Linked DNA regions of Homo sapiens: regions 1, 2 and 3 are each linked to region 4. Evidence: promoter capture Hi-C in 16 types of primary human blood cells and fetal thymus (Javierre and others, 2016). All regions are on one chromosome and are shown on one strand. Each heading gives the region's core, a stretch centred on a gene start or on the middle of the fragment in contact. The rest is flanking DNA. Distances are from core to core; before and after follow the strand shown. Region 1 overlaps MEGF6 (multiple EGF like domains 6). Region 2 holds the start of LOC105378608 (a long non-coding RNA gene). Region 3 overlaps MEGF6 (multiple EGF like domains 6). Region 4 holds the start of CCDC27 (coiled-coil domain containing 27).

Region 1 (2,752 bases), core at 243-2,742, 230 kb after region 4:
CAGCCAGCACTTTCCCTGTGGCCTGTGCCACGGGGCTGGGGACAGGAGCAGGTAGGCCCAGGTGTCCTGTGATGGGAGGCGTCCTCTCAAAAGTGGACCTGCCCTTGGATCCCTCCCTGCTCTCTTCAGCCACGCTTGTTCAGGGGGCTTGGTAAGCAGTGGGAGGGACAAGGGTCCTGCGAGGTGTCTGTGGCCTTGGACTGCTGCTCTGCCCCCTTGGCTGGTCCCCAGGCTGTGGAAGTCCAGGCAGCGCAGATGCGGGGAGAGGCCTCAGGACCAGGCTGCTCTCGACCCCTTCCTGCTCTCCTACTCCCCTCTACCGCCTTTGAGTGGGGCATCAGCTAAGTCTGGAACCTGAGGACACGTGGTTCTAAACCAAGCTGGCCCTTGGGCAGGGAGGGTCTGACGGGGTCTGGGCTGCTCTGGGATGGCGGGTGGCACTTCATGGGGGAGGGTGCCGGCACAGCGAAGGCTTCTGTCCTGGGATATGGTGGCCTTCTGGGTCCTTGCACGGGGAGCCTGTGGGTGTGGGGGGCCCAGGCTGACCCCAGCTGCATTGGTTTCCCAGGGCTGCTGGAACAAACACCGCAAACGGGGTGGCTACAAACTATAGAAGTTTCTTCTGTCGCCATCTGGAGGCCAGGATTCTGAACCCAAGGTGTCCGCGGGGCCACGCTCCCTATGAACCCATAGAGAGGACCTTCCTGGCCTCTTCCTTCTGGCCGTCCTTAGCCCGTAGCCTCGTCACCACAATCTGCCTGGTCTCCACATGGCCCTCTCTGTGTGTCTCTTGTTGGGATAGGCGCATTGGATTTAGGGCTCACCCTCATCCGGAACAATCTCATCTCGAGCCTGAACTTAGGACAGCTGCCAAGACCCTGTTTCCAGACAAGGCCTCACTGGAAGGCTCCAGATGGCCATGAACTGCGGGGACACTCTTGAAGCCAGCACGCCCTCCCCTTTCTCAGGCTTCCCCCCACAGCCTGGGCATGGCCGTCTCAAAAGCTGTCAGTTTCTCTTTTTGGGCTTGTGGGTCCTGGTGGAGCGGTTGACACCGCCCAGGAAGCACTTTGTAGATTTGGACTTAAGAAAACCGCGTGCGCTCCCGGTTCAGTCTTGAAAGGCGCTAGAGGCCCAGCCTGTCCTTGGAGCCCTCTGCTACTCCCCACCTTCTGGCCGGCCCTCGAGGCGGTGGCTCTTCCTTCTCGAGCAGGTGTCCAAGGTGGAAGCACAGACCCTGTCTCTTCTGCTGCGTCTCCGGCAGATGTGGGTGAGGGGCTCATGGGTGGTGCCCTCGAGGCACGGGAGGGACCTGGGTCTGGGCCCCCGGCACCTGGGGGGCTGTGTTGGCAAAGCAGGAGGGCACAGGTGCCCAGCTGCTGATCCTTCCCCATTCCTGCTCAGATGTGGACGAATGCCGAACCCACAACGGTGGCTGCCAGCACCGGTGCGTGAACACCCCAGGCTCCTACCTCTGTGAGTGCAAGCCCGGCTTCCGGCTCCACACTGACAGCAGGACCTGCCTGGGTGAGTGTCGCCTGGAGACCCTGCCTGGGCTCCTGGCTTCAGCCATCCCTACCCTCTGGGGTGTGCCCAGGCCTGGCCTGAGAGGGTGGCTGTGGACATGGAGAGGCAGAGGCCGCTCTGGCAGTGGCTCCTTCCTGCGGAGCATGGCTCTATGGAATCCTGCCCGCACCTTGCCCCAGGCTCAGGCCGGTAAAAGGACTGAATGCCAAGTTGCCAGGTCCCCAGGACCCTGGCTGCAGACCCTCTGCAGCCACACTAAGCCCCGCTGTGATGCTGAGGCCCCTCCCAGTGGACAGGGGAGTGAGCCCGTGGGTGGAGATCCTATTAAAGATTCTCTACAACAGAAGCTGCCGTGGTTATCAGCAGGGACCTGGCCTGGTTGTGATGTCCCCTACATTTGATTTGAGGGAGACCTGGGTCACGTGCTACGTGGTGGGGGACGCTGGCCGAGGAGGCCTGGTCAGGGCAGGGGCTGCGTGAGGACACCCTTCGCCCGCAGAGCCAGGCTTTGTGGGCCCAGGTGATCCCTGCCCAGCTTGGGGAGCCTGGAGGGTGTGGGCTGTGGCAGGTAGGGTAGGGGTGACGAAGAAGCGGGACCCTGTCCCTCAGCTTCCTCTGCGGGGTCTCTTGGCTATTGGAATGGGCTGGAGGAGGTGTCGCGGACACGGACTGTGGCCGCAGGGAGGGAGGGTTAGAGGGAAGCAGGGGAGGTGCCAGGCCTCTAGGAACCGGCACAGGGCTGAGCAGGGGGCTGGAGCCCAGGAATCTGGGGTGAAGAGTAAGTAGCCAGTCAGCCACCCTCACCCTTCGGCACCCCTGCTCCTGGCTGGCTCTGGGCACAGGCGCCCCAAGCAAGGACGGGACTGACCCTCTTGCTGGTCTCTGTCTGGGAGGCATGGGGGGTCATTCTCTGGGTGATGGGCGTCAGGACGCCCCTTCTTCCTGCCTTGGAGGCCCGGAGCAGGGCCCAAGCCGGCTCTGAGCAGCCTCCCTCCCGGTCCTGCCTGTGATGTGGCAGAGCAGCTCGCCAGCCCTGGGGCCCCCCCCCCGGCACACACTCACATGTCCCGGCCACCATGGGGATCCAGGCAGCCGCTCTGTAAAGTTTCCCTGGGTCTGAAAGTAGAAACAGATGCAGGAATGTTGTGATGTGCTTCCGGACAACGGAGACGGGGGTGCGGCCCCAGCCCGCTGCCCTGCGGGGCTTCTGGGAGCCTGGGGCACT
Region 2 (2,835 bases), core at 330-2,829, 200 kb after region 4:
CCAGGAGACCCCAGACCCGCCAGCTGGTACGCCCTATCCTACACTGTGTGACCTCTCGAGATGGGCTCCTTTCACACAGCACGAGGTTTGAGGTTCCTCCTCGCTGTCGTCCTCCATGTCTGTCTTCATCACCCGCTGGTGGGCACCCGGGTGGCCTCCCCTTTCTGATGGCTGTGGACAAGTCTGCTGTGAGCGTGTGCACACACCGTGGTTTGAGTCCCTGTTTCTATTTATCTTGGGCAGGTGCTTAGGGGTGGGACTGCTGGGTCTGTGGCGCCTCTGGGTATGTCTTGTGTCGGGAGCCGTTACTTTCTGCTGATAGAAAATTCCCGGGATGGGGAGGGCTGGGGGCATGGAGCCTTCCCCTCACCACCCTTCAGGCTGGACTCACCAGGTGGCATCCACGATCACTTCAGCTCTGGGGAGAGCGGGGACCCCTGGGTTGGGGCTGGCGAGAAGTGGTGAGGGCAGCCTTTGTGAGTCTCCAGGTGAAGACTCAGAGCCTAGCCTGGTTCTGACCTTCGACCGCCCACCCGTGCCTGTGCTTGGATCATCCCTGGGAGAAGCTGGAGCAAGGGGCCTGTCTGGTGCCCACGTAGCTGGGCTTTGAGAGGCCCCTGCTCAAGACTCACCTTGTACGGGAAGGCTGGTCAGCCTCCGGGTGGTTCCCTGGGCTGCAGTGTTGCCTAGGTAAATTCCAGGCCATAAGTGACGCCCATAGCCCGAGCTGGAGCCCTTGTGGGGCCAGAGAGCGGGGTGAGCTGTGGGGAGCAGCGGGGCCAAGTCGCCCTGGATATCCCATGCCAGTGTCTTCGGTGAATTGATGGACCCTTCTGCATGCAGTCAACCAACGGGGTGCCTGCCGCCAGCCAGCCCAGACCCGAGCATGACCATGTGCCCCCAGAAGCCCCCAGGCAGCCCCCCATCTTCTCGCCTAGACTGGAGCCCTGAACACCCCGGTCCTGGGTTTTGGAGGAAAGAGAGGCTTCTGCTGGCTTTGGGGAGGAGCCGTCACCTGCTTCTGGAGCTGAACTTCTCCGTCCTGGGCCCTGGTCTGCCTGTGGCCATGGGGCATCAGTCTGCGTGGTGCCCAGAGTTCCAGCCCAAGCCTGAGGGGTTGGGGGAGCCCCAGCTGCCTTGTCGGGCTCTGGCTTTTCTCCTGGTGGCCGGTCCACCTGCAGCTTCTTGAGCATTCACCAAGGGTCTCCTGCGGCCCTTGTGGGCTTGTTCTGGGCTGAGCACGGGGGCCCCGAGACTAGGGGGGCCAGTCCCCACCAGAGCTTGCATGGTCTGGCTGGGGACAGATCACCCAGCGCGGAGCCACGGGGATGTTAGAGCTCAGCCCGGCCTGGGGTGGAGGCGGCGCCCGCAGGTACCCAAGGCGGGGTCCCAGCCAGCATGGAGATGCTGGGGTTGGGGGCTTTGGGGGAACAAGGGGCGATTGCAGCCTCAGTGAGGGTGACCAGGCAGCGGTGGCTGTCCTGAGTGCCAGACCCTGCAGCCCCTGTGCCAGGCCAGGCTAAGGGGCTTTTCCTGTGGGTGTGGGGGGGTCCCTGAAGGCCCCCAGCTGCAGTGGGCTCCTTTCCCCGTGGAGCCTAGCAGGGTCGGGGTGGGTGGCTGTGAGGCTGCCCCGGTGCTGGGGACCTGTGCTCACATGGCCAGCTGTGTTCCAGGCCTGGGAAGCTGGGGACCCAGCTGTGCCAGCAGCTGTGTGGAAGCTCATCTGGCGTCCAGCCCCACCTGCCTGGACACCGCCCTCCCAGCCACCTGGCCTCAAGGCCCCAGTGTCAGGACAGGTCCCAGAGCTTGGGTGCCTGCCCCACACCAGAGGAGGGGCTGCTGCTTGCCTGCCAGGGCAGTCTGTCGGGGCCAGGCAGACAGGGGACCCTGGGCACCTTGGCTCTGACCCCTGGCCTTGGCCAGCCTCCGTCTCGCCCTGTGTAACTCTCTAGGAATTCCCAAAAAATTCCCACCATGGACCTCCGCAGGGCTGTGCTGACAGCTGCATTCCAACAGTCCGGAGACGGCTGGCCTGCATTCCGCTTGGCCCGTTCTCATGGGACTGTGGCCGCCCCGAGGCCTTTGGCCCCGCCCGGGGCTCTTCCAGGGCCCGTCCTGAGGAGGTGCAGAGAGAAATGCCCCCGGCACTGGGGAGCTTTGGGCCAGCTCAGGTCCGGAAAGGCCCGCGCTGTGTTCCGTCTGTCTGGGGTGCTGGTGGGAAAGGTCGGCCTCATCTTCTGGGAACAGCACCCTGTGGGCTGGGCTGGCGTCTGGCCATCTGCGTCCTCAGCATGCTGGGGGCTCCACTGGCTCTGAGCCTGCCTCCAGGTTCCGATCCCCATGCAGCTGGGGAGGGCCTGGTCTTTGGCCTCTAGAGGCGGGGGCACAGGGGGCTGAACATTCCTGGAAGTTTGGATGGTGCAGTTCAGCAGGGGTGGGTGGGCAGAGGCGCCTGGTCCCTGCGTCACCTCAAGTTGGGTCCCACACCTTCTCAAGGCAGGTCACTTGATTCCCTTCTTCCCTCGATGCTCCTACCAGCCCAGTCACTTGTGTGGGGAGGCAGTGACGCTGCCTCTGCCCAGGACCAAGTCCCGGGGGAAGTCCTGCTGCCTGAACCAGGCAGAGGCGCACCCCGGGAGAACTGCCACATTCCCGCACCCGCAAAGACGGAGGGCGGGCTAGGGCATGGGCTCTGGGTCCTGGCAGGCTGGGCTCAGCAACTTGATGTGGTGTTCAGGGCTCCTAACCTGCTCTCCAGGCCCAACTCAGATGCCACGTGATCCCCAGAGACGCGCCAGGAAGGGAGGATGGGGCCTGGGGCTGTCCGAAGGCGGG
Region 3 (2,724 bases), core at 225-2,724, 250 kb after region 4:
AATTCCTTTGATAAACATCCCCTGACTGTCCACTCTATGCCACGCACTGTTCCAGGCAGTAAGGATTCCCTGGGAACAAGCAAGTTAAAGTGTTTGTCCTTCCTAAATATCAGTCTTCACGGTCCAGCAACAAGCAAGCCAGCAAATAACTAAGACAGTGAGGGGTGTCTGCTGAAGGGCAGCCGGCAGGTGGGGTTCCTCTAGCTCAGATGGCCAGGGACCCGTCATAACTGTCAGTGAGGCTCTGCCTGTTTGAAAGAGCTGGTTCAGAAGGAGGAGACTCCTCTCTCTGCTGGTGTTCAGAGAGAGGAGTCAGTGATCAATTAGTGATGTCTGCCATGAGCATGGGCAGGGGTGATGTGGTACAAGTGCCATCATTTTATCTCTAGGCAACTGCTTCTAAACCCAAGCCTCCAACCCTAGGAAGGGGTCTCAGAGTGTCGTGCTGGCTGGTGACCCTGACGCTTCCCTGTCATTCTTTGTAGCTTGTCCTCCGGACACCTTTGGGAAGAACTGCAGCTTCTCCTGCAGCTGTCAGAATGGTGGGACCTGCGACTCTGTCACGGGGGCCTGCCGCTGCCCCCCGGGTGTCAGTGGAACTAACTGTGAGGATGGTGCGTGCAGCCTCTTCTGGTGCTTCTGGAATTACCCCTGGGCTGTAAGGGAAGTGGGAGACACCACCCCTCCACGTCCTCCTTGTCTCCTTCCTCCCACTGGAGCAGGGAAACTGCTACCAAACTTTTCCTAGACTCCCTTTCCTTCCTGCCTCCCTGTCTCCAGAGCTTTAGGCTGTGCTTGAGAGAGAATGAGGCCCTTGAATGAGAGGGGTATTGCTTTTTCACTGTTGCTAATTTTCCCAGGGCCTAACTGTAGCAGACGATAAGACTACAGAGCAGCACTTTTGGAATGGGTTCCCTTGAGAGGCAGTGAGGTCCCTGTTCCTGGAAGCATTCAAGTAGAGCTGGTGATGGCTGGGTGAGGTTTGCAGAAGGGATTACTTGGGGGCCAGTGGCTGCAAGGGATGATGTTGGCTCCCTTATTAACTCTGAAGTTTCAGCCTTTCTGGAGGAATTAGTCCAGAAAATGTTTCCCAGGTGGCTAAAGCTTCATCTTTAAGTCTTCAGACTTCATCATTTCTGCCTCTTTCGATGGAGAGTGCAGCTAACGTATCATAAACTTTCTGCCTTTGTGAGAGGAAGACAGCCAACCCTAGAACCTGTCCCCCAGGTGGCCCCGTGAGCTTTCCTGGCCGTATGTGCTGGGCTCTGCAGGGCTGGTTGCCTGGTGGTGGTGGGGACCCCAGGCAGCCACACAGGGCTTCCTACCTCTTCCCTGTCAGTGTGCCTCCCTTCCCCACTTTGTCTGCCCTTTCTATTCTACAGGGTGCTGGGGAACCCCCGTATTCATTCCTGGGTGCTGCACCCCTGGGATCGTGCTGTACCCTCCAGGCTGCCTGCAGCGTTGAGGGGTCACCTCCCCTTCTCCAGGCCTCCTCTTTCTGTCTCGGCTTCCGCCTGCCTCTCAGATGAGGATGTTTGTCTTTGGATTCAGGGCCAGCCTGGATAATGTAGGGCTACTATGGCAAGCACTGTTGCAAGAAATGCAACTGTGCCTAGTCTCCAGGTCCTGGGGACTAGGACGTGTATGTAGTTGTGGGGGTACCTTCAGCTGACTACCGCCTTCAGTAGGAGGAAGGACGTGGGGCAGGACCCAGCCAGAGAGAATTGTTTGGGGAAGAAAGGCGAGGACCTTTCTAGCTCTGGGGCCACCTGCGGCTTGGGCCTGGGACCTTGTCTACTGGGGCCACGTGTCCTTCCCGCTTTGAGGCTCTGAGATCAAGCTTAGTGACCACCAGGGGACAGAAGTCAGGCGGCTCCTGATGGGGGCCAGACTTTGGGGAGAGTGGGGCGTGAGCTTTGTGCATCTCTCCAGTGTGGGCCGAGGAATGTGCTCTTCCACCCGCCCTTGCCACAAACCCTGGGGGCAGGGGATGTAGGGGACAGACCAGCCAGGGCAGACGGCCACATCCGGAAGGCTCACCTAGTGCCCTGGCGGGGGCTGCTCCCAGCTCCTGTGCTGGGCCCTGGGCCCCCGCGCATCCTACCACATGGGGGGACCACATGTGGTAGGCTGGCTGCCACCAAGGTTCACATGGAGCCCCGCTGCCCCCAGGCTGCCCCAAGGGCTACTATGGCAAGCACTGTCGCAAGAAATGCAACTGTGCCAACCGGGGCCGGTGCCACCGCCTCTACGGGGCCTGCCTCTGCGACCCAGGGCTCTACGGCCGCTTCTGCCACCTCAGTGAGTCTCACTGCCCCTTCCAGTGTCCATGGTGGTGGCAGCGGGTGGAAGGGATGGTCCATGTCCTGTTACCTGTAGTCTGGGTTAGGATGAGGCTATCGGGGCCCAGCCAGGTCACCCACTGGGATGTAGGTCTGGGGTCCGCCATGAGTCTGTGGACTCCAAGCCACATCCTCTCGACTGTGACTGTGCTGGCATCCAGGGCGTCTGGGTGGATGGTCCCCAACCTTGTGCCTCCCAGCCTTGATGGGTGGTAGGGCTGCAGATGAGGGCAGGGCCAGGCCTTTTGCAGAAGCCTCCGGGGGATGAGGCCTATCTTGGCTTTTGGAGATTCCTGGCAGCAAGGCCAAGCTCTGAGTCCCTGGTGGGGTCACCCATCCCTGGGGTTCAGACACTCAGGGAAGGGGCGGTGGGCTGCAGGGG
Region 4 (2,854 bases), core at 8-2,507:
CCTCTGTCCCCTCTCCAGCACACTGGATGCTCAGCAAGAGCCACGCAGACCCACTTTGGAAACCATAGTCCAGCCGGGCATGGTGGCTCATGCCTGTAATCCCAGCACTTTGGGAGGCCAAGGCGGGCAGATCACATGAGGTTGGGAGTTTGAGACCAGCCTGACCAACATGGAGAAACCCCATCTCTATTAAAAATACAAACAAACAAACAAATAAAATTAGCCGGGCAAGGTGGCACATTGTAATCCCAGCTACTCTGGAGGCTGAGGCTGGAGAATCACTTGAACCCAGGAGGTGGAGGTTGCGGTGAGCCAAGATCGCGCCATTGCACTCCAGCCCGGGTGACAAGAGTGAAACTCCGTCTCAAAAAAAAAAAAAAAAAAAAGAAAAAGAAAAAAAGAAACCATAGTCCACTAGGTCCAGGCAATGCATTCACCCAGGAAGCTGCCAGGAGCCGGGGTGACCATCTCGGGCTCCCCCAGTACACGGTGGCACAGCGTACCTGACTGGCTGAGGTCCCCTTTCACATTTTCTCCCCTTCACTCTCCTTTTCAAGATGCACCTTGGGAGTCTTGGGGCAAACTGTACATCTTCTCCCCTTGGCCAACCAGAGACACCGGGAGCCAAGGTCTGCAAGAGGGGAGGACCAACCCAAAGCAGCTAACCCAGAAGAAGCCGGTGGCATGTGGGGACTAAGGCACCAGGCCCTTCAGAAAGGGAGAGGACCGCAGGGCTCTTTCCACCCCTAGCGCTCAATTCGTTGCCTGCCTGGAATCCCCCTTTGGTAACCCATCACCAGAAGGCCTGTGGAATGCTTTGTGGGCTGACAGCTCTATGGGCCTTTGGGGAGGAGAAGAAACAGGTCACCTCAAGGCTCGTGGCAGCCCTCCTCCCGGGACCCCATACCGTCTTCCTGTAGTAGCGGCTGATGGTCTGGACCGACTTGCTGAGCGTGCGTGGCTTTTGGTGCGGTTTCCATTCTGGGCACCGGGCGTCCCGGCTGGCCATGCTCTGGAGGAGCACCAGGGCCCTGGCCATCGAGCTGGACATCGAACTGTGCCTCTGAGATGGGCTGGCCTCCTTAGGTAACATGAGGCGTGGGATGCAAAGACCAAGTGAGCTTTGTTGCCTGAATGTGGACCTGAATGAGGACAGGCCCGGCTTTTCCCGTGGATCTCTCTTCAGCCTGGCTTGGGGTGTGGAGGGGAAGATGGCCTCGAACATGAACCTGCTGGCTGGTGCAGTGGGAGGAGATCAGCTTCCAGAGCTCCAGGTCCTGTGGGCTCCTGGGAGCAGTGGTGGCATCACAGATGTCTCCATAGAAACCGTTATTGAGCAAAAGGGGCCCGCGGCTGGATGCGCTGGAGGCCAGTGCTGTGACACCAGGTTTTTGAGAAGAGCAAAGCTCAATATTGAAGGTTGCCTTCTGGGCTGGGTGTGGTGGCTCACACCTGTAATCCCAGCACTTTGGGATGCCCAGGTGGGAGGCATGCTTGAGCCCAGGAGTTAAACATTTTAATTAGCCAGGCATGGTGGCGTGCACCTGTAGTCCCAGCTCCTCAGGAGGCTGAGATGAGAGGATCACCTGAGCCTGGGGAGGTCGAGGTTGCAGTGAGCTGTGTTCACGTCACTGCACTCCAGCCTGGACTACAGAGTGAGACCCTATCTCCAAAAGAAAAAAGAAAAAAAGAAAAAAAAAAAGAAAGAAAAGAAAAAAAGAAAAGTCAGCTCCCAAGGACACAGGAGTCCAGCTCAAATGTCTCCATGTGCTGGCTTGAAGACAGTAATTGTATTAGAAAAGGTTAGGCTGGGTGCGGTGGCTCATGCCTGTAATCCCAGCACTTTGGGAGGCCGAGGTGGGCGGATCACGAGGTCAGGAGATCGAGACCATCCTGGCTAACACAGTGAAATCCCGTCTCTACTAAAAGTACAAAAAATGAGCCGGGCGTGGTGGCGGGCGCCTGTAGTCCCAGCTACTTGGGAGGCTGAGGCAGGAGAATGGCGTGAACCCAGGAGGCGGAGCTTGCAGTGAGCAGAGATCGCACCAGAGCACTCCAGCCTGGGCAACAGAGTGAGACTCCATCTCAAAAAAAAAAGGTTTAGGGGGTGGGCTCTGGGATTAGAAACATTTGGCCAAGAAATACCTAGAAGAGTAGATAAGAGTAGCCTGACTCCCTGGGAATGATTTTCCAGGCTTCAAATGCCTACCTCAAGACATCTTTTAAGGAGAGAAAGACAAAACCCCTACCTTCAGAAGCCTTGATTAGGGTCTGAATGGGAAGAAAGGCTTCTCTGCTTGCTGACTGAAGGAAATTTGAAGGGGGCCTGCCCCATCCACACCTGTGGGTATTTCTCTTCAGGTGGAGATGAGAGACTGAGAAAAGAAACAAGACGCAGAGACAAAGTATAGAGAAAGAACAGTCAGCCCAGGGGACCGGCACACTCAGCATGCAAGGACCTGCATCGGCGCTGGTCTCTGAGTTCCCTCAGTATTTATGGATCACTGTTTTTACTACCTTGGTGAGGGGAGTGTGGCAGGGCAACAGGGTGATGGTGGGGAGAAGGTCAGAAGGGAAACGTGAGCAAAGGAATCTGTATCATGAATAAGTTTAAGGAAAAGTACTGTGCCTGGATGTGCACGTAGGCTAGATTTATGTTTCACTTTACACAAACATCTCAGTGTAGCAAAGAGGAACAGAGCAGTATTGCTGCCAGCATATCTCGCCTCCAGCCACAGGCTGGTTTTCTCCTATCTAAGAGTAGAACGAATGGTCGGCTTTACACCAAGACATTCTGTTCCGAAGGATGAGCAGGAGATAGAAATCTTCCTCTTATCTCAACTGCTGCAAAGAG

What was found. Contacts are between HindIII fragments. The CHiCAGO score rates a contact against its expected background, and 5 or more counts as called.
Region 1: a fragment that was not itself captured here is called in contact with the fragment with the promoter of CCDC27 in region 4 in 1 of 17 cell types (neutrophils); the score reaches 6.2 in neutrophils.
Region 2: a fragment that was not itself captured here is called in contact with the fragment with the promoter of CCDC27 in region 4 in 1 of 17 cell types (neutrophils); the score reaches 5.4 in neutrophils.
Region 3: a fragment that was not itself captured here is called in contact with the fragment with the promoter of CCDC27 in region 4 in 3 of 17 cell types (neutrophils, activated CD4 T cells and monocytes); the score reaches 12.9 in neutrophils.

What each region holds. Positions count from the first base shown.
Region 1 is chr1:3,522,899-3,525,650 of GRCh38, reverse strand. It overlaps MEGF6 (multiple EGF like domains 6), which reads left to right. Exons shown (of 37, transcript NM_001409.4): 5 at 1,405-1,527. Among named protein-coding and RNA genes, the nearest start is that of MIR551A, 37 kb to the left of the region's middle. RefSeq lists an enhancer at 1,953-2,492. The HindIII fragment of the contact is 4,070 bases long and covers 1-2,752 here.
Region 2 is chr1:3,547,589-3,550,423 of GRCh38, reverse strand. All of the region lies in intron 4 of MEGF6 (multiple EGF like domains 6), which reads left to right. LOC105378608 (a long non-coding RNA gene) reads right to left here and starts at 1,944. Exons shown (of 3, transcript XR_946886.3): 1 at 1,016-1,944; 2 at 633-686; 3 at 1-171. RefSeq lists an enhancer at 2,389-2,835. The HindIII fragment of the contact is 6,080 bases long and covers 1-2,835 here.
Region 3 is chr1:3,505,685-3,508,408 of GRCh38, reverse strand. MEGF6 (multiple EGF like domains 6) reads left to right here. Exons shown (of 37, transcript NM_001409.4): 14 at 486-614; 15 at 2,173-2,301. Among named protein-coding and RNA genes, the nearest start is that of ARHGEF16, 52 kb to the right of the region's middle. The HindIII fragment of the contact is 736 bases long and covers 1,107-1,842 here.
Region 4 is chr1:3,750,853-3,753,706 of GRCh38, reverse strand. CCDC27 (coiled-coil domain containing 27) reads right to left here and starts at 1,257. Exons shown (of 12, transcript NM_152492.3): 1 at 908-1,257. The coding sequence starts at 1,225. The HindIII fragment of the contact is 5,281 bases long and covers 1-2,854 here.